4 separate regions of the Homo sapiens genome follow, and regions 1, 3 and 4 are each linked to region 2. The links are contacts of gene promoters, found by promoter capture Hi-C in human tissues and cell types (Jung and others, 2019). All regions are on one chromosome and are shown on one strand. Each heading gives the region's core, a stretch centred on a gene start or on the middle of the fragment in contact. The rest is flanking DNA. Distances are from core to core; before and after follow the strand shown. Region 1 overlaps GALNTL6 (polypeptide N-acetylgalactosaminyltransferase like 6). Region 2 holds the start of SAP30 (Sin3A associated protein 30). Region 3 has its middle 120 kb from the start of GALNT7. Region 4 overlaps GALNTL6 (polypeptide N-acetylgalactosaminyltransferase like 6).

Region 1 (6,014 bases), core at 2,261-4,760, 390 kb before region 2:
GTATACCTTAGTGAAACTGAGTAGAGCAATGCAAGAGCCTCCTACTTTTCAAATACTATTTCCTCTTCCTGGTCCTGTCTCCCCAAGTGAACTATAAAATTGCTTATGGAATTTAAAAGCAGATTGGTTTTATATCTTCCAGCTCATTCAAATATTCACCTGGCTTTAGGAGCCCTTTGAGTTACCCTGCTTGGTTCTTAAACACTGGTTGACACCTACCACTGGAAAGCTTGGCTGTTAACTACTTGAACTACACTTTGAAAAACCAATCTTGGTTAGTTTCTCAAGAAGACAGCATGCATTGAAAGGGACAATCTCAGATGAAGCAGGAATAGAGGGGTAAAATAAAAACAAGAATGCTTACCACTTTCTAATGTCCTCCCCGCAATTTGAAGTAATCCCTGTCCTTTTGGGAATTTCCAGTTGTTATCTCTCCTAAGACAATTATGCACCATCGTGGAAAAACAGATAATGCTATATGTCTTTGTAGCTTTTCTCCTTGTGCATAAAATGAGGGTGAAACACCTCATCGGTGTGAGATAGAGTCAGCTCTAAATATACTGAGAAAATTGTGTTTACACAGAGGCCGTATTGACTACATCTCCACTTCTTTCACCTCACAGAAAAGGAATTAGGTCCTGCCTTATGTGATCTGCTAGTCCCCATCAGACTCTACAACTTGGTTTCTTCTCTTGCACAGATTTACACAAAGCAAAAGCAACTGTCCCAATCACTACCAAATAGGCACTGTATGATACTTTTGTATTATATATAGACCTAACTTTAAATTTGCCATTTTAATCAGTGGCATACCAGTACAGTGACATTAGCATGCATTCACATTGTTGTGCAACCAGCACCACTATCCATCACCAGAATTTTTTTTATCATCACAGCCTGAAACTCTAGAGCCATCTTTATTAGTCACCTCTGGCTGCTATAACACAGTGCCACATAGTAGGTGGCTCGTAAACAACATACATTTATTGTGTCACTGCTCCTGGAGGCTGGAATTCTGAGATCAGGATGCTAGCATGGTCAGGTCAGGTTCTCGCGAGGGCTGTCTTCCCACCTTGGAGATAGCCACCTCCTCTCTGTGTGTTCATATGGTTGTGCATATGCTGGGTTTGGCGGGCGAGGGGAAAAGACCCCTCTTCCTTCCTCTTGTTGTTAAGCCAGTTTTATCAGATTAGGACTCCATCCTTATGACCTCATTTAGCTTAATTACCTCCTAAAAGCCGTATCTTCAAATACACTTACATTGACGGTTAGGGCTTCAACATATAAACTGGCAGGGGGGAGAGAGGGGCACAATTCAGTCCATTACACCATTAAACAATAACTTCCTATTCACTCTCCCCCAGTTCCTAGTAACTTCCATTCTACTTTTGTTTCTATCAATTTGACTGTTTCAGGTACCTCACATAAGTAGAATCACACAATATATTTCCTTTAGAGACTGGCTTATTTCGCTTAGCATAATGTCTTCATACAACATCCATGTCGTTGTATGTATCAGAACTTGGTTTCTTTTTAAGGCTGAATAATACTCCATTGAATGTATATACCACATTTTCTTTATGCATCCATCTGTCAATGGACACTTGGGTTGTTTCCACCTTTAGGCTATGCTTAATAATGCTGCTGTGTACATAGGCATATAAATATCTGTTCAAGCCCTTGCTATCAATTCTTTTGGGTATACACCTAGTAGTGGAATTGCTGCATCATATGGTAATTCTGGGTTTAACTTTTTTGAGGAAACGTTAAACTTTTCTTCCATAGCAGCTACCCCATTTGGCATTCCTACCAACAGTGCACGAGGGTTCCAATTTCTCCACATACTTGCCAACACTTGTAGTTTTCCACTGTTGCTGGGTTTTTTTAACAGCCATCCTAATGAATGTGAAGTGATATGTCACTGTGGTGTTAATTTGCATTTCCCTAATGACTAATGATGTTAAACACCTTTTCATGTATTTATTGAACATTTGTATTTCTTCTTTGGAGAGATGTCTAAAACATCTTTTGCCTGTTTCTATTGGTCTATATGTCTGTCTTTATGCAAGTACCATACTGCTTTAATTACTGTAGCACTATAGTAAGCTTAGAAATCATGAAGTGTGAACCTTTCGACTTTGTTCTTCCTTTTCAAGATTGTTTTGGCTATTTTGGGTCCCTTGAGATTCCATAGGAATTTAAGGATAAATTTTTATATTTCTTAAAAAAACATTGAGATATTGATAGGACTTGCATTAAATCTATAGAATGCTTTGAGTAGTATGAACGTCTTTTTTTTTTTTTTTTTTTTTTTTAGATGGAGTTTCGCTCTTGTTGCCCAGGCTGGAGTGCAGTGTGATAGCTCACCGCAACCTCTGCCTCCCAGGTTCAAGCGATTCTCCTGCCTCAGCCACCCAAGTAGCTGGGATTACAGGCATGCGCCACCACCCTGGCTAATTTTGTATTTTTAGTAGAGACGGGGTTTCTCCATGTTGGTCAGACTGGTCTTGAACTCCTGACCTCAGGTGATCTGCCTGCCTCGGCCTCCCAAAGTACTAGAATTACAGGCATGAACCACCGCACCCGGCCAAACATCTTAACAATATTAAGTCTTTTGATCCAAGAACACAGACATCTTTCCATCTACTTATGCCTTCTTCAATTTCTTTCTGCATGAATAATATTTTAGCCAAATGTTTCCACAAGCTCACTGCCCTTCTGCCCAGGCAGGTCCCAAATGCAGCTCAGCAGGCTTCCCAGGTTCCTCAGAGCCCTCCCTCTGCTCTCTCCATGACTCAATCACCACGGGACATCTCACACCAGAATAAAGCCAAGGAGCTAAACTAGAGGGAGGAACTGTGCCCTTAACGTGATTTTTGGCTTTATTGTCCCTGGCTAAGCTTCTTTGTTTATTTGTGTGAGTCAGCTTCACATTTCCTCTAGAATTGAGACTGCTATCAAAACAGGCCCTGACATGTTAGCCAGCAGCCAGTCTATACATAAGACAATGGTCCTCATGACTGAAAGTCAGAAGAGATGCTGAAGTCTACAATTAGTGTGGGGCTTTCACAAGCTCTTGAGGCCCCAAGACAAGGGGTTGGAATCCCAGGTTTACTACTGACTCACTATAAATTACCTATGTATTGTCTAGCAGGTTGAATGGCAGCCCACAAAAAGATATGTCAAATCCTAATTTCAAGAACATGTGAATGTGACTTTTTCTGGAAAAAAAAAGATAAGATATTTTTAGATGGAATGAAAAGATAATACGAAAAAAATTTTTTTTCCAAAAAATATTTATCTGAGATGAGATCATCCTAGATTTTCTAGATGAGGTATAAATCCAATGAAAAGAGTCTTTGTAAGTAGCCAGGCACAGAGGGTCAACTATCACATGTTCTCACTCATAAGTAGGTGCTAAAAAATGTATACATATGGATATAGAGAGTGCAATAATAGACAATGGAGACTCAGAAGGGTGAATGGGTGGGAGGGAGGTGGATGATGAGAAATTAGTTAATGGGTATAATGTACTTCATCTGGGCAATGGATTCCCTAAAAGCCCTGACTTGACCACTACACATTCTACGCATGTAACAAAATTGCACATGCACTCCATAAATTTATACATTTTTTTAAAAAAAGAGTCCTTGCAAGAGACATTCAGGGAAGGCAGAGATTGCATAAGCCACCACAAGCCAAGGAATGCTGGCAGCCACCAGAGGCAAAGAACGTAATCTCCCCTAGAGCTTCTGGAGGAAGCACAGCCCTGCCGACAGCTTGATTTCAGACTTCTGGCCTCCAAAACTGTGAGATAATAATTTCCAGCCACCAAGTTTGTGATCATTTGTTCCAGCAGCCACAGGAAACTAAGACACCTTGTTTCCTCATTCAAAATATGAATAATGGACAGGTGCGGTGGCTCACACCTGTAATCCCAGCACTTTGGGAGGCCAAGGCAGGCAGATCATTTGAGGTCAGGAGTTTGAGACCAGCCTGGCCAACATGGTGAAACCTTGTCTCTACAAATAATACAAAAAGTAGCCGGGCGTGGTGGCACATGCCTGTAATACCAGCTACTCTGGAGGCTGAGGCAGGAGAGTCACTTGAACCTAGGAGGCAGAGGTTGCAGTGAGTCAAGACTGCACCATTGCACTCCAGCCTGGACAACAAGTGCAAAACTCTGTCTCAAAAAAATATATATATATGAATAATAATAGTACCTACTTCTAGAGTTGTTGTGATGGTTAAATAAAATTATCATGGAAAGCAAGTAGCATAGGGCCTACCGCTGCAAACTCTCAATAAAACCCTGATTAGCATTACAAATGGAGGAGTGAGGCAACACAATGCCGAAGCTTATAAGAACCAGAGGTCCAGGAAAATCATTGTTTTTGCCTGAGACATCTCCCGGTTGATTTTTTTTTTTTTAAGGTTAAAAACTACAGTCATTTTCTTGCTTACTGAAGTCCATGGGGTATAGGCAAAATATCACATTCTGCATTCCAAAAAATAAGTATCAAGCTCCCATGTGTTTGTGCAATGGGAGATGGGGAGAAAACTATATATGTAACAAACATATGAAAATGTTCTTAGGCCACCAGATATAGAAAGCAAAAATACTTTGTGTGCCAACTGTTGTGTCTGTATATGCGTATGTATTCGTCCGTTCTCAGATTGCTAATACAGACATACTAGACTGGGTAATTTATAAGGAAAGAGCTTTAATGGACTTACAGTTCCACATGACTGGAGAGGCCTCAGAAAACTTACAATCATGGCTGAAAGCAGCTCTTCACAGGGCAGCAGGAGAGAGAATAAGTGCTGAGCAAAGAAGGAAGCCCCTTATAAAACCATCAGATCTCAGGAGAACTCACTCACTATAACAAGAACAGCCTGGGGGAAACCGCCCCCATGATTCCATTATCTCCACCTGGTCCTGCCCTTGACATGTGGGGATTATTACAATCAATTCAAGGTGATATTTTGGGGGGCGGGGAGCACAGAGCCAAACCATAGCAGTGTACATTTCTTCTGGAGAGTTCATAACTTTCATCAGATTCTCAAAAAGAGTCTGTGTGGAAACAATAGACACTGGGGACTCCGAAAGGAGGGAGGGGGCGAGGACGGCAAAGCCTGGGAAACTTCCTACTGGGAACTGTGTTCACTGTCTGGGTGACAGGATCAGTAGAAGCCCAAACCTCAGTATCATGCAGTATCCTCTTATAAGAAACCTGCACATGCACCCACTGAATCTAAAATTAAAATTGAAATTAATAAAAATAATAAATTAATAAAATTCTTTCAAAAACACTGCCATGTAAAGGAAGTTATAATTGCTCTAGGAAATTAACATTTCTAATTACTATAATAATGAACATTTTTTATGCAACAGTGGATACTAATGGGAATTTATGCTATTAGAAGATTATGCTGTGTTAACCCTAACAAAAAAGAACCTGTACCCCCCAAAAATGTTAATCACTTACATAAAATAATACTGATGGCCTTGAATAAAGTGCTTAAGGCCAGGCTCTAAAAAATAAACCAGGCAAGTATTACATTCAGCCAGGGGGCTACCTGTGGCTCAAAACATCATTGCTGGAGCCTTGCCCATGACCCAATTCCAGCAATATGAGATGAGTCTGGATTCGAGGAAGAGATTTGAGAGAGAAATGAACAGCAAGTGCCTTCGACAATATAGCAATCTCCCAGTTGTGTAGTAACAGAAAGTGCATTTAAACATGACCTGCAAAAAGTTCTAGCAATAAATTCCTTTTAAATTGTTTGGTGAGGCCTCTTTGTGGAACTCTAAGATTAATTGCAATAATAATAATAAATTGTTGTCATTGTGACCCCTCACATTCATAATCAGACAAACTAGATAGAAAATATTTAACATTTTTTCTTTATTTAAAAGGCAATTATTGAGTAAGTACTACATCTTGGTAACCACCTGACAGGTTCATCTTGCCTATTGCCTAAACAGCTGATTTATCAAGACAGGGAATTGC
Region 2 (6,030 bases), core at 2,124-4,623:
GTGACTGTTTAATAGGATCTTTTTACAACCATTGTATTGTGTGTAAAGGAGCCATAGCTACAGTTCTTTACTTGAGTAAGCTTCATATGAAACTGATAACTATACATATACATACATGCACAGCTTAAGGAGATTCACAAAGTACTTATCAGTAAGCATCTTTCTTTTTCCTACTGAATTTACATGATTTGGTCACATTTTGCAGAAGATATAAGCTTTTTTAAGCACAAGAACCAAACAATATGAATTTCATGAACTATTTTAAAAACACATAAATGTACAAAGAAAAATATGAAAATTCAACATCCCACTGTCATGTTTCAGATATTTTTAATAAATAAAAACTTTAAAATTCAGAAGAAACCATCTTTAAGCCATTCCCAGTGTGAAAATTGATCATACAATCTGGATCATTCTTGTCATACCCAACTAAATCAGAATCGAGGGACCAGGGGAGAAAGCAATCAGGGCACACAGCTCTAGCATTAAGAATTAAGTTTTTTACAACCCAGCTGCTGAAACGGCCTGCAGTAACTCTAAGACCAGTTTTACCGAGTAGTTGCTGAAACAATCTCCTATGACTAAGACTGGTTTTATCTACCACTCTCACTCACCAATCAGAGCTTGCCAGCTTCCCAAAACTTTACTATAGTGCCAATGAACCTTCTTTCAAAACAGTAGCAACATTTCTCTTTCTAATAAAACTCTCGACCTTCTCTTTGTTCTTCTGACATACTAAAGACCACTCAGTCTGTGTGTATGTCCTGAACTGCAATTCTTGCTTCCCCAAAAAACCATTAAATTTAGAAATTCATCTCTTTATATTTTATGTTTACTCTGACACCATATACAAATTCCTTGGCCTCCTTCGTTGGAGATGAGCATCACCCTGAAGTTGGGATGTATCATCCCATCCATATATTCTCATTTTTACCACTTAAGAAAATGTATCCATAAATATATAACATGTATCCATAAATATATAATTATTCTGTGTTGTAATTTTTTTTTTTTTTTGAGACAGGGTCTCGCTCTGTTGCTCAGGCTGGAGTGCAGTGGTGCAATCTCAGGTCACTGCAACCTCTGCCTCCTGGGTTCAAGCAATTCTCCTCCCTCAGCCTCCCAAGTAGCTGGAACCCCAGGCTTGTGTCACCATGCCTGCCTAATTTTTGTATTTTTAATAGAGACGGAGTTTCACCATGTTGGCCAGGCTGGTCTCGAACTCCTGACTTCAGATGATCCACCCTCCTCGGCCTCCCAAAGTGCTGGGATTACAGGCGTGAGCCACCACGCCCTACTGTGTTGTAATACTTTAAGCCAGTGTTATCTAATGCAACAGGTACAATTTATTGTAATATTTTGTTTAACCCATTACATCCAAAACATTTAAACATATATAAAAATTTTTAATGTGCACTTCAATATTCTTTTTGAAAATTTCTTGTAGTAAGTCCAGAAATAAAAAAAAAGTCCAGCTGATATATACTTACAGCACATCTCAATTCATATGCTAAAGTTAGAGTTCATAAAATTTAAGTTGGAAAAACAGATTCATATATCTGAGTTGTTGCAAACACACTTAAAAGTATTCCAACAATTGAATCGAGCATCAGGTTTTTGGTTTTTGTTTAATTCAAATTCAATTAACGATTCAGTTTTTCCGTCTCAACCACATTTCAAGTGCTGAGTAGCCACATATGGCTAGAGGACAGCCTACTGGACAGCACAGCTTAAGGAGGTACACAATGTACTTATCAGTCATCATCTTTCTTTTTCCTACTGAATTTACGTAATATTTAAATTGTTTTTCTTTGTCATATCCTAGAACTCAAACGCACAGATACAATGGATACCTTTGATTTTCTGCGTCGATGGCATTTTGCATTTAAAAAGATCATCTGGGTGGGGTGGCGCGCGTCTGTAATCCCAGCTACTCGGGAGGCTGAGGCAGGAGAATCGCTTGAACTCGAGAGGCGGAGGTTGCAGGATCGCGCCACTGCACTGCACTCCATCCTGGGCGACAGAGCAAACTGTCTCAAAAGAAAAAAAAATCATTTATCACTAAATTTACTCACCAAAAGAACTTGCAAAAAAAAAACCCAAAACCCTACTGCCTAAAATATATTTTAAAACGTATTTGTGTTTAAGCAGCATATATCTTTTGATAAATAATGACGCATGGTAGCTAACTAGTAAAGATGCAGCTTTCATATTAGCCACGCCCATCCCTCTCTCCGCCCTCCACAAGCACGTCCCCGCAAGCGCGCAGGAACATACACGCGTACGCGCGCACACACACGTACACACGCGCGCGCCCGCGAACACATACATACAAGCAGGCGCGCCCAAACGCCGGCAGCACACAGGCGCGCACGCGCTTTTCAGGACTCAGGAAATGCGCTTTCTGCTCCCCGCGCCCGGTAGAGCTAATGCAGGGAAGTTTCTGGGAACATTCGACCAGCGTTTGTATTGGTGAGGTTCCAAGTTTCCTTTAAAATGATATGACTCCGCCCTTCTCCAAAACCGTTTGAGGAGAAATGGAAAAGGTTGGGCGTGGAGGTGAAAAGGAGCCCTGTTGTCAACTGGTCCGTACTCCACCTCAGGAGGCGGCCAACTTGGTGCGCCCAAGAATAAAAACATTTCCCTTGTAAGAACATGCAAGTGTTTAGAAACGCCCCCCCACCCCCCCGCAAGGCGTTTGTGAGGGGGACCTGTCACAGTTGAGAAGTCAGGATGGGCGTTTTCCTCCCAGGAGGTGCCCTATTAATTTGCGGCCTCGATAGTTGGTCAAGCCGGGATGTTAGCTGCGGAACCTCCAGGACCGAAGAGCGCCAATTCTCCTGAGTTCTCCTTGGTTTGGGTTTCCCACAAAAGAGTGGTCACACCAAAAACTCTGTCTCCACAAATGCGAAACGGGCTCGAAACTTTTTTTTCCCCACACGATCACTTCCCACACCACTCCCATCCCTTTATGTTTCGCCTCAGGAGTCGAGGAACTTCTCTGAAAACCAATTCTACGATATTCCAGCAGCTAAACACAGCCCGAATTCCCTAGAAACAGAGAGAGCGAGAGAAAACACTGTAAACCCCAATCACACGCTCCTGTTTTCCCGGTACTGAAAAAAAAAAAAAAAAAAAAAAGTGGGTCCGTGGCCGCGCTATGCATGCTAGGATTAGTAGTTCCTCCGTCCCTCATGGCGCGGGGTCAGGGCGGAGCTCAGGTTGACTCTGCAGCAGAGAACTACAATTCCCATGGGGCCGCGCGGCAGAAAGAAAGGGGCGGGACGGGAGGGGGCGCGTCGCGCTTGCGCAGGTCCCGGGGCCGGAGGGAGGCGGAGGCGTAGCGGTCCAACTGCTGAAGTCCCCATGTGACAGTGAGCGGGGTCCCCGCTCCAGGAGACGCTCGAGTCTGCGTCCCGGCCCTCAGCACTGTCCACTGTTTCGGTGCCAGCAGAGACCAGCAGGCCCGGGACAGTTGGTGTTTGGCCGTGCCGCTGTCTAACTTGGTGTGCAGAGTGAATTGCCGCTGCCGGAGCGGAGAGAGGCGGAGCGGCCAGGAGAGAGGGGATTTCTGTCAGCGCCGGCCTCGGGAGCTCGGAGACATGAACGGCTTCACGCCTGACGAGATGAGCCGCGGCGGGGATGCGGCCGCCGCAGTGGCCGCAGTGGTCGCTGCCGCGGCCGCCGCCGCCTCGGCGGGGAACGGGACCGGCGCGGGCACCGGGGCTGAGGTGCCGGGCGCGGGGGCGGTCTCAGCGGCTGGGCCCCCGGGGGCGGCCGGGCCGGGCCCCGGGCAACTGTGCTGCCTGCGGGAGGATGGTGAGCGGTGCGGCCGGGCGGCAGGCAACGCCAGCTTCAGCAAGAGGATCCAGAAGAGCATCTCCCAGAAGAAGGTGAAGATCGAGCTGGATAAGAGCGTAAGTAAACCGCGGGACCGCCCTGCCCTCCCGCCCCTCGGTGGGGCCCCAGGAGCCGGGCAAAGGCACGGGTTGTCGGCGGGGTCCCCCAGACAACCGCACTGGCTGCAGTGCGGTCTCGTGGAGTCTGTGTTTGGAAGCAAATAACAAAGTCGCTGCAACTCCTACCGCCACCCCAACACACACACCACACACAGGCTGTCGTTCCCCTCTTCTTTCCCACCCTGGCCCCCAACCTCCCGCTGCCTGCGTCTCTCCCGCGCAGTCTTCCCTCTTCCTTCTCCTCTGCGACCGGGACACGAAACAAAGGGGACCGGCGCACTGAGGGCCCAGAGTAGTTTTCTTGCAGCCCGGCAGCTCTTCTGGAATGGAGGCGCCTTTGTTTTGCTGCCCAAGCTGGTGTTTGGCCCCAGGCGGTACTAAATCCCGTCGTCTAGGAGAAAGCGGAGGACCTTCACGAACAAGGAAGATCCTGTTCTTTTCTGTGTTCCGTCTCCTCCGGAGCGGAGTGAGAGGGAAGCCGAGCTCACCCGCCGCCTGGCAGTGAGCCGGGGTTGTAAACGGCGTTTGCGCTGTCAGCTCCGAGGGCAGCTACTCCGATGGTGGGGAGCACGTAGCCTCTGCGGTTTTGCCATCCCCTTGGCAGCCATCAGGATTTTTTGCACGTCTTTTCGTTTGACCATCTATGAGGTTTTTAGAAACAGCCGTTGCTACTTTTGGGAGATCTGGCTAGCGGTAAATGAATAACATGGTATCGAGAACCTACCACAAGTCCTGCATATTTTTATCTTGCGCTTGGCTTAGAAGTAAATGTAAAAGCCTGTTAGCTCAGTCCGTGTTTGTTTCAAATGCTAGTCTACAGCTCGCAGGAGTATATGTAATTAAAGTTTTTGAAAAGTTTATTTGTGACACTTTTTGCCCGTTTAAACAGTTTTCAGTGTTATCCATGAGAAACTCTTCAGGTGAACTTGCATAATTTCAGATTGTTTTGGAAAAATGTGTTATAGATAAATACATTGATTTAATATTCAGAAAAATGTATAACTGAAATTTAAATATAGTTTTGAAGTCGATGGCTCATTTGTGAAAACGAATGGTTTTGTATCTGGACTATAATTTGGGTATTCAGTTAGAAAGACTGGAAAGCATACATTATATTACTAAAATATGCTGTTCTTTTAAGTAGAGAAAGTACTGTCAAGTAGCAAAACTGTGAGCAACATCATCTTTCCCCTCATCAGTTAAAAATTCAACATGAACTAATTCAGGTCATCCTTACTGCTATCTGTTTGTTTATTTATTTAAGACAAAGTCTCACTCTGTTGCCCAGGCTGGAGTGCAGTGGCGCGATCTCGGCTCACTGCAACCTCCAACCACCAGGTTCAAGTGATTCTCCTGCCATAGCCTCCTGAGTAGCTGGGATTACAGGCTACTGCCACCATGCCCGCCTAATTTTTTGTATTTTTAGTAGAGACGGGATTTCACTATGTTGGCCAGGCTTGTGTGGAACTCCTGAGCTCAAGTGATCCACCCGCCTTGGCCTCCCAAAGTGCTGGGATTACAGGCGTGAACCACCGCGCCCAGCCCCTCACTGCAATTTGATGACAAAACCCAGAGGGTTGGAATTTCTCATTCTCCTCTCCCTCCCTCCCTTACCCCCTTCCCCAGATGGAACCAACCCCTCCTTCCCCATCCACCATCCTTTTAACAGTATTCCAGACATCTTATGTTTTAGCGTATAGGATTTAAACGTATAAATATTCCATTATCTTAACAATGGCCCATCTTGGCTGTCTTTATTTTTAAGAACTCACTGTGGCATATGTGTTTTACTAATACATAGACACATTTTACTGTAATCATAAGCAGTGTGTAAAACTTTTCTGTTTCAGGCAAGGCATCTTTACATATGTGATTATCATAAAAACTTAATTCAGAGTGTTCGAAACAGAAGAAAGAGAAAAGGGAGTGATGATGATGGAGGTGATTCACCTGTTCAAGATATTGATACCCCAGAGGTAGATGGAAGTTTTTTATGCTTAATGTAAATCCTAAGTAGTGCATTCTGAAGCCTTTATAAAAAGATATGAACAATCTTTTAAGTGTTTAAAAC
Region 3 (5,497 bases), core at 2,987-5,486, 320 kb before region 2:
CTTTTGCCCATTGAGTATGATATTGGCTGTGGGTTTGTCATAAATTTGAAGAGCTATTTTTTTAACCTTCTGTCACAGAGATATTTTGTATAGGTCAAGAGATCTCGAAGCATTCAAGAAGCATACTGGAGAAAATCAATAGTGAGAAATTAACCTGTGTGTTGAGCAATTCCAGAGAGTGAATGAAGATTTATCTCAAGTGTTCAGACAGCAATCTTGTTGTAGAATTAGATGATCCTATAAAAATTCACATTATGTCATTAAACAGCTGACTGCTATTTACAGTTCTATGAAAGAGACAACCCTGGGTTCTGTACCCTGCAAAGCTCAGATTCGCAATGATCTTGTAGGATGCTATAATCATGGAAAGCTAGCCATAACATGTTTGGCTCTGTCCTTTGAGAAAGCCTGAATATATTGCATTATTTTGGTGTGACACACAGAGGTCAACCAAGATTGGTCTCTTGATCTCTGAATAAAATAATGTAATATTTTGGGGCCTATTTGAGGGTGGAAGGTGAGAAGAGGGAGAGGATCAAGAAAAATAACTTACTGGTACTGGGCTTAATACCTGGGTGATGAAATAATCTGTACAACAAATCGCCATGACACAAGTTTACTAATATAACAAACCTGCACATGCACTCCTGAACTTAAAAGTTTTAAAAAATTAAATTAAATTTTTTAAATGTAATATAAAAAATTAATTTTTAAATGTAATATAAAAAAATAATTTTTTAAATGTAATATAAAAAATTAATTTTTTAAATGTAATATAAAAAATTAATTTTTTAAATGTAATATAAAAAATTAATTTTTTAAATTAAGGAATGCTTGAGACATTGAGGCCAAAATTAAAACTCTAAACTGTCAAGCAACTGTTAAATGTGTGCAAATAGGAAACAAATAGAATGAAATGAAGCCTCGAGAACCTACCCCTAAGCCAAAGGGCACAACATTGCTAATAAGCACATCTGAGGAGGCATTTCCACTCCACTGAAGGTTAAGACTCTGTCTACCCAAAGCACCGCTACTACCATGCTGAAAAGTAGAAAACTATGTATGTTGGTATGTTTATTTAACAAAGGGGACTGAACAATCCTCAGAAAGACTCTCTTTCCTGGAAATAACATGATTTGAAAATTGGACAGTAGGCCAGGCACATGGGTCACACTTGTAATCTCAGCACTTTGGGAGGCCGAGGCGGGCGGATCACGAGGTCAAGAGATCGAGGCCATCCTGGCCAACATGGTGAAACCCCGTCTCTACTAAAAATACAAAAATTAGCTGGGCATGGTGGTGTGCACCTGTAGTCCCAGCTACTAGGGAGGCTGAAGCAGGAGAATCATTTGAACCCAGGAGGCAGAGGTTGCAGTGAGCCGAGATCGTGCCACTGCATTCCAGCCTGGCGACAGAGCAAGACTCTGTCTCAAAAAAATAATAATAATAAATAAAAATAAATTGGACAGTAGAGTACTGACCTACCCTTTTATCAGAATGGGAGGAAAAATCATAATCTGGCCTTGGAAATTGCTACTTCTCCATCATAAGACATGGTTTTGCCAGAATAATTAATTTTTAAAATCTTTTTTATGTATTTACAAAGAAAAAGCTGTGCTTTAAAGCAATCATGAACTAAACATAGGACTTACACTTTTTTCAAGGCTGGATTAATACCCTGGCAATAGCAATGTATTGGCTTCTATGTCCACTGGTATTTACTTAAAAACATTAATATGATCACATAACTGTTTTTAAAAGTATTCACTATATCAGAAGCTTCAGGGAGTAATGCAAGTTCCAGAATTGCTTTATGAATTGATAACCTAAAACTTTATGCAATAAATGAATAACAGAAAATGAAAATGGACCTACAAGCAATGAAAGAGTGTGTTAGGCCCGTTCTTCTCATGTTTCTTGGAAAACATGAAACCCATGCCAACACTTGACATCATTTCCTTTAGGAGCAATGTTTTAAAAGAAGCCAAATATAAATAAGTAAATACCTATTAATATTTTGTGCTTCTTCCTCTCAGATGAAAAACTTTTATTTCTATCTTTTTATAAATATCTCCATAAGGAAATAGTAAAAAAGAATGCTTTCTTGGAAAAATAAGCTCTATGAAGTTTATGGCTGACCTATCAAAAGAGTTAGCGCCCCAGGCGCAGTGGCTCACACCTATAATCCCAGCACTGTGGGAAGCCAAGGTGGGAGGATCACTTGAGCCCAGGAGTTCAAGATCAGCCTGGGCAACATAATGAAACCTCGCCTCTACAAAAAATAAAAAAAATTAGCTGGGTGTCATAACACATGCCTATAATCCCAGCTACTGGGGAGGCTGAGGCGGGAGGATCACTTGAGCCCAGGAGGTTGAGGCTGCAGTGAGCCATGATCGCACCACTGCACTCCAGCCTAGGTGACAGTGAGATCCTGTCTTTAAAAAAAAAAAAAAAAATTCAATCACACTTTGATTACAAAGCTGGCTATCCAGCAGTCATAGAGGGCCACACCTGCCACTGTGGGACATTCTTGGCCCAGGATATCACACACCTAAGGACTCAGAAGAAAGTTGATGATAAGGCTATGCCAGATGTGCCTTTGACTTCTTGTCTTACTGCAGAATCTCCCCCAGAACTAGGCAGTTCACCTGACCCTCCCCTGAAGAAGAGTGCTAGGTTATATTTTTTCAGAATTTAGAATCATCCTAACAATATGACATTGTGAACATTGATTTATCCCTAAAAACTCATTTAGTAAAATGTCTTTAGGCTTGTTACCCTGGCAGGATTATGAGGCTGCAACGCGCTTCCATAAACACATGCTGGAGATATGCTGGAAATAAAGCATTTCTTATAAATCATGAGAAAGAATGCCTCAAAGGGAAAATATTTTTAAGTGATTCCCTATGATTCTGGGAGTACATATAAATGGAGATAAGTAAATTGTATCTCTCAACATGGGGCATGCTTCATTCTCTCCCTTCACCTCATCGACCAGTCCTGCTCCTGCCATCATTCCTCTCAGATGACACCACCAACTGTAATTACTCTCCATGTGTGAAACGGTGGCCGAGGACACTGAAGCGTGACAAGTGGCCAGTCTTTCCCACACTGCCGACATTGGAAGATTGCTCTTTGATTTATGTCTATAGCCTTTGCTTGCAGAACTGGGAGCTGTTTGCAACTCTATTTGGTAGACTTGACATTGACCTGAAGCTTTTATTCATAGTCACTCATCTCTGAGCTTGACATACCAGACTGGTGTGTCTGGTACTGCAGCCTCTTGGCAGACAACAGCTCAGGCACATGTTTGATGCTTCACTTCAGAGAAACCTGGAAACATTTCTTCCATCCCTGCTGCCTGAAGTTGCCTGCTTCTTCCCAAAGCACAATAGCTTCCTGGGCTTTCCACAGGCCTCTGCTGTCCTTCTTTGCTCATTTCAACGTGGTTCTCCAACTGACCTCAGTACAGAAAGGCTGGTTATATTTCAGAATCTTTTTGTCGATGAGTTTATTCTGACTTTACTCACCTTGAGGGGGCTATTCATAACTAAACAGCTTAGGTGCTGGGTTTACCTATGTTACTTTATGCGTATGATTTTTGTCCTGTGTGATTTTTAATAATGCCCCTTTTACTGTTTTTTTAAATTTTTACTTTTATTATTTTTGAGAGGGAGTCTTGCTCTGTCACGCAGGCTGGAGAGAAGTGGTGCAATCTTGGCTGACTGCAGCCTCTGCCTCCCAGGTTCAAGCAATTCTTGTGCCTCAGCCTCCCGAGTAGCTGGAATTACAGGCATGTGCCACCACACTTCACTAATTTTTATATTTTTAGTAGAGACATGGTCTCACCATGTTGACCAGGCTAGTCTCGAATTCCTGACCCCAAGTGATCCACCTACCTTGGCCTCCCAAAGTGCTGGGATTACAGACCTGAGTCACTGCATGCCAGCCTGTTTTTATTTTTTAGAGACAGGGTCTTGCTCTGTCGCCCAGGCTGGAGTGCAGTGGTGCAATCTTAGTTCACTGCAACCTCAAACTCCAGGGCTCGGGTGATCTTCTCGCCTTGGCTTCCCAAAGTGCTGGGGTTACAGGTGCGCACCACCATGCCTGGCCCCTTTTACTCTTAAAAGTGTTCTAGTTTCAGTAACGAATTAAATACTCACCCTATTTATAATCCACGTGCCTGTTTATAATTCCTGTAGGAAAGAAAATGTATTTTGCTTATTAAGGCTTACAGTCTACAAGAAATCAACTCGACTTATTCCTTCCCTTCAAACAGGACCAGACCAAAATCAGCTTCTTGATGACTGTGTATTGCATTCACACGGGTCTTTACAAGTTACTTAATGAAAGCTTTGTAATCAAGAGTTCTATATCCACCTAAATCTCTTTGCTGAATGAAGTCTAATTTAAATGATTTTTTCATAATTTAAAAAATTTATTTGAAATCAATGCAGTCATTTTATATTTTTTCAAGCTCAAAACAGTAGATCGCCAACATGGCCTATTAACCACACTATTAATTCTCAATATTATGGTAAGGTGTAGATAGATAGATGATAGATAGATAGATAGATAGATAGATGGTAGATAGATGATGGGTGGACATGCTATTTGCATTATTGCTTTTGTTTTTCTAAGCAATTTTATATGTATTATCTCACTCCACACTTATAACAATCTCTGGTGTAGATAATATTATAATCCTCATGAAAAAAACTGAAGGACTCAGAGTTAAGGGGCTTGCAAGGGGCTAGCAAGTTAACAGCAGAATCAGGACTAGATAGATTCAGGCCTTCTAATATGTAGACCTCTGTTCCTTCCATTCTCCATGGTAGTTTATACCTCACTACAGGGTCATTCACCCAGAGCAAAGCCCATATGAGTTGTATGGAGGTACCTCAAAATAGCAAGATCACTCATTCCTTAGGGACTTCTGTTTTTAACCCCTTAATTATGTTTGTTCTTCTCTGTACCTGTGTGTTTTTGTTGATTTTCCCACAAGCTTATTAAAGTAAGAACTGAATCCAGGATTAGTCCTTCTTAATGAGATTTCTAAGGTACTTTTAAGAAAAGAAGTGATCTATTAAAGCTATTTGCATAGCTCTAGATGACAAATCCAAAAGCAAATACTGTGTTCTTGGTAATTATCAATGGGTTCAGTCCTCAGGGAGAGGAAAACAGTCATTAAGCAAAGAATTTGCACTCACTTCGCAGTAAGACTCCAAGCTGACCTTCTTTTAATAGTCTTATTTCTGAAAAGTTGTCAGGCACATCTCTTAGCCATCTGAGACTCTCGGTCTGCACTGATGTGAATTCTCTCTGGCAGTTTTTCTCTTCTGAGGGTACAAGTTAAACATGTGTATTACTAGGCATTTTGGTCCGTTTGGGCTGCTTTAACAAAATATCATACACTGGGTAACTTACAGATAATAGGAATGTATTTCTTACAGTTCTGGAGGCTGGGAAGTCCAAGATGGAGGAGCAGGCAGATTCA
Region 4 (5,444 bases), core at 2,623-5,122, 440 kb before region 2:
AGAAGTTTCTTGAATTTGACTTAACTACACAGAGAAACTTCTGAGGGGAAGAATTTTAAGAACCAGGATGAGGTTATCGATAGAAGACATGAATTTTGAGTCCTTGGAAATGGTAGTAACAGAACTCTAAGATGACTCTCTTCCTTGGTTTACTCACATGAGTATGTCAACGTTACATGGTAAAAGAGATTTGGCAAACGTAATTATCAATCAGTTCACTTTAAGAAGAGGAGGTAATCAAGGTAGGCCTCATCTAGTCACATGAGTTTAACCACTGCTGGGATGGAAGGTCTGTGAAGCAAGGAACTAAAAATGGTGTCGATAAGCTGAGAATGGTCCCCAGTCAGCAGCCATCAAGAAAATGGGGATCTCAGTCCCATAATTGCAAACTGAATTCTGTCAATAACCTAAGTAAACTTGAAAGCAGATTCTTCCCCTGAGGCTCCAGGTAAGAGCTCCACCCAGCAGACACCTAGACTTCAGCCTTGTGAGACCCTTGATGGAGAACCTTGTTGAGCCCTCATGGACTCCTGACCTACAGAACTGTGATACAGTAAATGTATGTTGTTTTAAACAACTAAGTATGTGGTCATCTGTTATGCACGTACATCTGTAAACACCATGTTAGAGTGACCCTCTGAGAATAATTAGTTGAAATTTTATTACTGTGTGTTTATTAGGTTGTTTTGCTATATCTTAAGAAGGAAAGAGTCTTACTTACCCATTTGGGCTGCTATAGCAAAGTGCTACAGACTGAGTGGCTTATAAATAACAGAAATTTATTTCTCACTGTTCTGGATGCTGCAAGTCTGATATCAGAGTGCCAGCATTGTTGGGTTCTGGAGAGGGCCCTCTACCAGGTTGCAGACTGCCAACTACTCATTGTATCTTCACATGGTGGAAAGACCATGAGAGAGCTCTCTGGGGTCTCTTTTACTAGTTCACTAATTCTATCCTTGAGAACTCTACCCTCATAACTTAATCACCTCCCAAGGACCCTACCTCTGAATACCACCACATTGGAGATTAAAATTTCAACATTTGAATTTGATAGGGTGGATGGATACAAACATTCAATCCATAACAGAAAGCAATAATGATTTATTGAACTTTCTATTACGGCACTTTTCATTCCGCAAATACTCTCCTAAGATGCATTTAGTTCACTTCTGCTCACTTTGTAAGTATTTTACAAGATAACATTAAGTGAAGAATAGGTTAAGGCCAGAAAATGTAAGGCATTGTTCCAGACCTTGACCCCACATCTTGTCCTCACTTATCACCATCTCCTAGTCCTGCAGGAAAGATTGGCCACCTCCACAAGCTAATCAATATTGTCACTTTTTTGTGAAAAACAAAAGGCTGTGCCAACAAATTCCTATCTCCCAGCTGCAGATGATAAGAAAGTTTCTTTGCCTTGACATTTGCTTATCTTTGACCAATAAGCACTGACATTTGATTATACACTGGACTATCCAGCATTCTCCTCCCTCCCATTTCCCACCCTAACACCTGCTGTCTAATTACTTTTAAATTCTACCTCTTTAAAATGCAGGAGTAAGAATTAAAGTAATCTCTCAAATAATTACAGTCACTAAATTTGATTAAAAATATCAGAAGAGGCTGAGAAAAAAATGACTGTTCATTAGGGTGGAACAACATCTATAATAAATCCAAAATCTTGGTAATTTAACATTAATAAGAATTTTCTATTGCTTGTCTCACAATTTGGAGGAGGAGGCATGAGCAATGCTTCACCCAGTTTTCAGCAACCCCGTCCCCATCCATTTAATGATTCTACCATCTGCTAGGGCCTCAGAATCCTCCTCTGTATCTTCTGCAATTACTCAGGCTCTGAGGGAAAAATATATTATAAATAAGGTAGAGAAAGTAGTCCACTTGTAATTTCTTTGGCCCAGAGGTGATGCACATCACTTCCATTTGCATTTCACTGTCAAGAAACAATTACATAGTCACATCTAAATACAAAGGAGCTGGGAATTATAACTTGGCTGTGTGCCCAGGAGGAAGTGAGCATGGAAATTGCTGAGTCCTAGCTCTGTATCCCGTACAATAGAATAAGATGAAATCTATGAGTGATCCATAAATTTTGGTTATCGGTGTTAGTAATTCACCTTTATCATGGATTTAGAAATATGTAGTTCCAATTACTACTGTTGCATAACAAAGCTTAGCACCATAAAGCAACTGTTTTATTAAGCTTTTGGATTTTGTGGGCCGCAAATTCAAAAAAAGGCACAGAGGAGATAGTTTGTTTCTGCTCTGTGATATATGGAGTCTCGGGGGGATGATTCAGCAGCAAGGGGCTGGAATCACGTAGAGGCATCTTTATTCACAGTGCTGGCAGCTAATGTTGGTCATCAGTTAAAACCCCAAGTAAAGGTATTTACCCAATGCATGACATCTCAGGTCCTTGGACTTTTTCACAATGGAGTAGCCTCAGAGAGTCAAATTTCTCACATGGAAGCCCAGAGTTTCAAAAACAAATGCCCCAGAGGACAGGCTATGTGGCCTTTTATGACCTATCTTCAACCACTTCTGTTGTACTCTACTGGTCTAAGAATTCATAAGCCCACCCTAATTCAAAGAGAGGAGACATAGACCGATCCCCTAATGGAAAGTTGGTTACCGAGGTCACATTGCAGAGGGGTATGTGCAATGGAAGATATTGTGGTGTCTAATTTTGGAAACTATAATCTCCCACATACATTATCTTAGAATCACTGAAAGTTAGTGTTTGAAAGGATTAATTTCTTTATAGAACAAGAGCCAGCAAACAATAGTCCACTGCCAGTTTTGGTAAGCAAGGTTTAACTGAAATACACCATGCCTATTTGTTAGCAGATTTGAGGAGTTCCAAAAGATACCATATGACCTACAAAGGCAAAAGTATTTATTTTCTGGCCCTTTACAGAAAGAGTTTGCATAATCTATAGATACAATATCAATTAAACACGTGGACACTGAAGTTAGACTACTAGGTTTTCAAATCTCAGTTCTGGAAGTGGCCAGTTATGTGGCTTTGAACAAGCTACTTAGCATCTCTAGGCTGCCATTTTCCCACCTTCATAATTGGGGAAACAGTAAAGTCTGTCATTGAATTGTGAGCATTACATGAAATAATTAATGAAAAGGGCATAATTAGCATTCATAAATGCTAACTTGTGCTGTAGAATTGCCTTAAATTATCAGCTAGATCAAATGTCCATTTGAGTCATATGTTTATCTCCAGTGTCATCTGCTGCAGATTTCAACACATCTAGTGATACAGGAAGTCCATTCTATCTTTAATCATTTTATTAGAAATTTCTTCCTACTAGGTTGAAATCTGCCCCCTTACAGCTATATGCAATTAATCCTGGTTCTATCTCCTAAAGGCTCTACAAAACATCTCTTCCAAATATTGGGTTCTTTGAAAAGGCTATCTCTGAATTTTATCTTATCAGAACTACACATCTTTAGTTCTTTCAATTGCCTCTCCTAAGACAGAGTTCACATCACTTTTCAACTTTAAAATTCCCCTTAGAAGGAAATATAAAGCATTTATCCAGAAATTAGCAAAAGACTTCAGGCCTGCAGATAGATCTAGATCGTTGGTCCCTAAATTCTCCATAGTATGTTAATGATGTGTGTTTTGTGCTACTCAGTCTTTTTCCACACTTCCTGCTGTGGAAGAGTTGATTTCTTAAGATCCTGGGACAGGTGTTTATTGTTGCCTTTTTATGTTCAATGTTATAGAGCTCCAGCCTGTGGAGATCTTTCCATATGTTGATAATGTAGTTTAGACTGTCCACTGCCCTTACCAGCTTTATATTACCCACACATATTTCTGAAGGCTTGATCCAAATCGTTACTAAATATCCCATCAAGTTGAAATTAATACTATGAGTAATCCTGAACTCAATTACAGCAACTGAATGTTGCTTTAATAATTGCACTTATTCCTTCCTGGACTTCCATTGACCTTAATCACCATTTGTTCAACCATTCTCGCTTGGGTGACATTCCTCTTAGTGAAAGAAGTTGGAAGCAAATATAAAGGAAAACATAAGCATTTCTCTTTCTCTCTTTCAATATTACACTTCAAATCAAGATATGTATCTGTATTACTCAGGGGTCTCCAGAGAAACCAAACCAAGGGAAGAGAGAGATTAATTTTAAGGAATTGGTCCACACGATTGTGGAAGCTTGGTAAGTCCACAATCTTCAGAGTAGGTGGGCAAGCTGGAGACTCAGGGATTCTGCTGGCAGAATTCCTTCTTGCTCAGTAGAGGTCAGACTTTGTTCTATTAACACCTTCATCCAATTGGATGAGGCCCATCGACATCATGGAAGGTAATTCACTTTACTCAAAGTCCACTGATTTCAAATGTTAATGGAATGCAAAAAACACCTTCACAGAAAGATCCAGAATAGTGTTTGACCAAATATCTGGGCGCCATGGTCCAGCCAAGTTGATTCATAAAATTAACCATCAGAGTATCTCTTTTTATAATCATTTATCTTACAATAAAAATAGCTAAGACTATAGCCTATATGAAGCCTGGATTTATGTTTTGATAATTAGTTCTTTTATAATAGAAGATCTGTTATATAAAACCACAATTAAGTGTGCGTCTGTCTGAGAAGGTTGTCATGGTAAAATATAACCATGACTTTTGTTACTAAATATAAAAGTACAGCATCTAGGGCCAGGTGCGGTGGCTCACGCCTGTAATCCCAACACTTTAGGAGGCCGAGGTGGGCGGATCACCTGAGGTCAGGAGTTCAAGACCAGCCTGGCCAACATGGTGAAACCTCGCCTCTACTAAAAATACAAAAAATTAGCTCAGCGTGGTAGCGGGCACCTATAATCTCAGCCACTTGGGAGGCTGAGGCAGGAGAATTGCCTGAACACAGGAGGCAGAAGTTTCAGTGAGCTGAGATCACACCATTGCACTCCAACCTAGGCAACAAGAGTGAAACTCCATCTCAAAAAAAAAAAAGTACAGCATCTTAACTGATTATTTTCTGTACCTAAGAAAAAGATCAGTGGCGGGGGGAGAAATGAGAATGCAACTCTGATTTTTAAGGTTAGCACTGTTGCAAGTTTCAGAATGCAACTTAAAAGGTATGATATGCTTGTGTTCTTTAAAGCATTCACCTATTTTTAAAATTTCACTTTTTATATGTTAAATTTTTAAATTGGCATTTTAATTTCAAATGTTATTTCTTCAAATGATTTTACAAGATTATTGAAACAAATATCTATATAAATAAGATGTCTAAGCATGAAATGTGGGTTCAATACAATATTTGTAACAAAATTTTACTAGAATTTTTCTTAAGCCAACATGTTGTCTATGGAAACAGGATTTTATTGAACTAGTATTTTAGTTTTGGTTTTGTTTTGTTAAGACAGGGTCTCGCTCTGTTCCCCAGGC

The links. The method cuts DNA at HindIII sites, captures the fragments that hold promoters and counts their contacts. A contact is called where the count stands out against the background at its distance.
Region 1: a contact is called between a fragment that was not itself captured here and the fragment with the promoter of SAP30 in region 2, in 2 of the 25 tissues and cell types used here (mesendoderm cells and thymus).
Region 3: a contact is called between a fragment that was not itself captured here and the fragment with the promoter of SAP30 in region 2, in 1 of the 25 tissues and cell types used here (lymphoblastoid cells).
Region 4: a contact is called between a fragment that was not itself captured here and the fragment with the promoter of SAP30 in region 2, in 1 of the 25 tissues and cell types used here (lymphoblastoid cells).

What each region holds. Positions count from the first base shown.
Region 1 is chr4:172,979,506-172,985,519 of GRCh38, forward strand. All of the region lies in intron 10 of GALNTL6 (polypeptide N-acetylgalactosaminyltransferase like 6), which reads left to right. Among named protein-coding and RNA genes, the nearest start is that of GALNT7, 190 kb to the right of the region's middle. RefSeq lists an enhancer at 2,848-3,107. The HindIII fragment of the contact is 4,686 bases long and covers 1,168-5,853 here.
Region 2 is chr4:173,367,581-173,373,610 of GRCh38, forward strand. SAP30 (Sin3A associated protein 30) reads left to right here and starts at 3,374. Exons shown (of 4, transcript NM_003864.4): 1 at 3,374-3,917; 2 at 5,810-5,935. The coding sequence starts at 3,603. It overlaps SAP30-DT (SAP30 divergent transcript), which reads right to left and starts at 3,118. Exons shown (of 4, transcript NR_183973.1): 1 at 2,712-3,118; 2 at 1,854-2,030. RefSeq lists enhancers at 60-129, 2,595-2,834, 3,918-4,481, 4,185-4,484 and silencers at 3,235-3,404, 3,685-4,064. The HindIII fragment of the contact is 15,433 bases long and covers 1-6,030 here.
Region 3 is chr4:173,043,845-173,049,341 of GRCh38, forward strand. No RefSeq gene overlaps it. Among named protein-coding and RNA genes, the nearest start is that of GALNT7, 120 kb to the right of the region's middle. The HindIII fragment of the contact is 3,478 bases long and covers 2,498-5,497 here.
Region 4 is chr4:172,925,285-172,930,728 of GRCh38, forward strand. The region is part of intron 8 of GALNTL6 (polypeptide N-acetylgalactosaminyltransferase like 6); the gene reads left to right. Among named protein-coding and RNA genes, the nearest start is that of GALNTL6-AS1, 200 kb to the left of the region's middle. The HindIII fragment of the contact is 3,335 bases long and covers 2,206-5,444 here.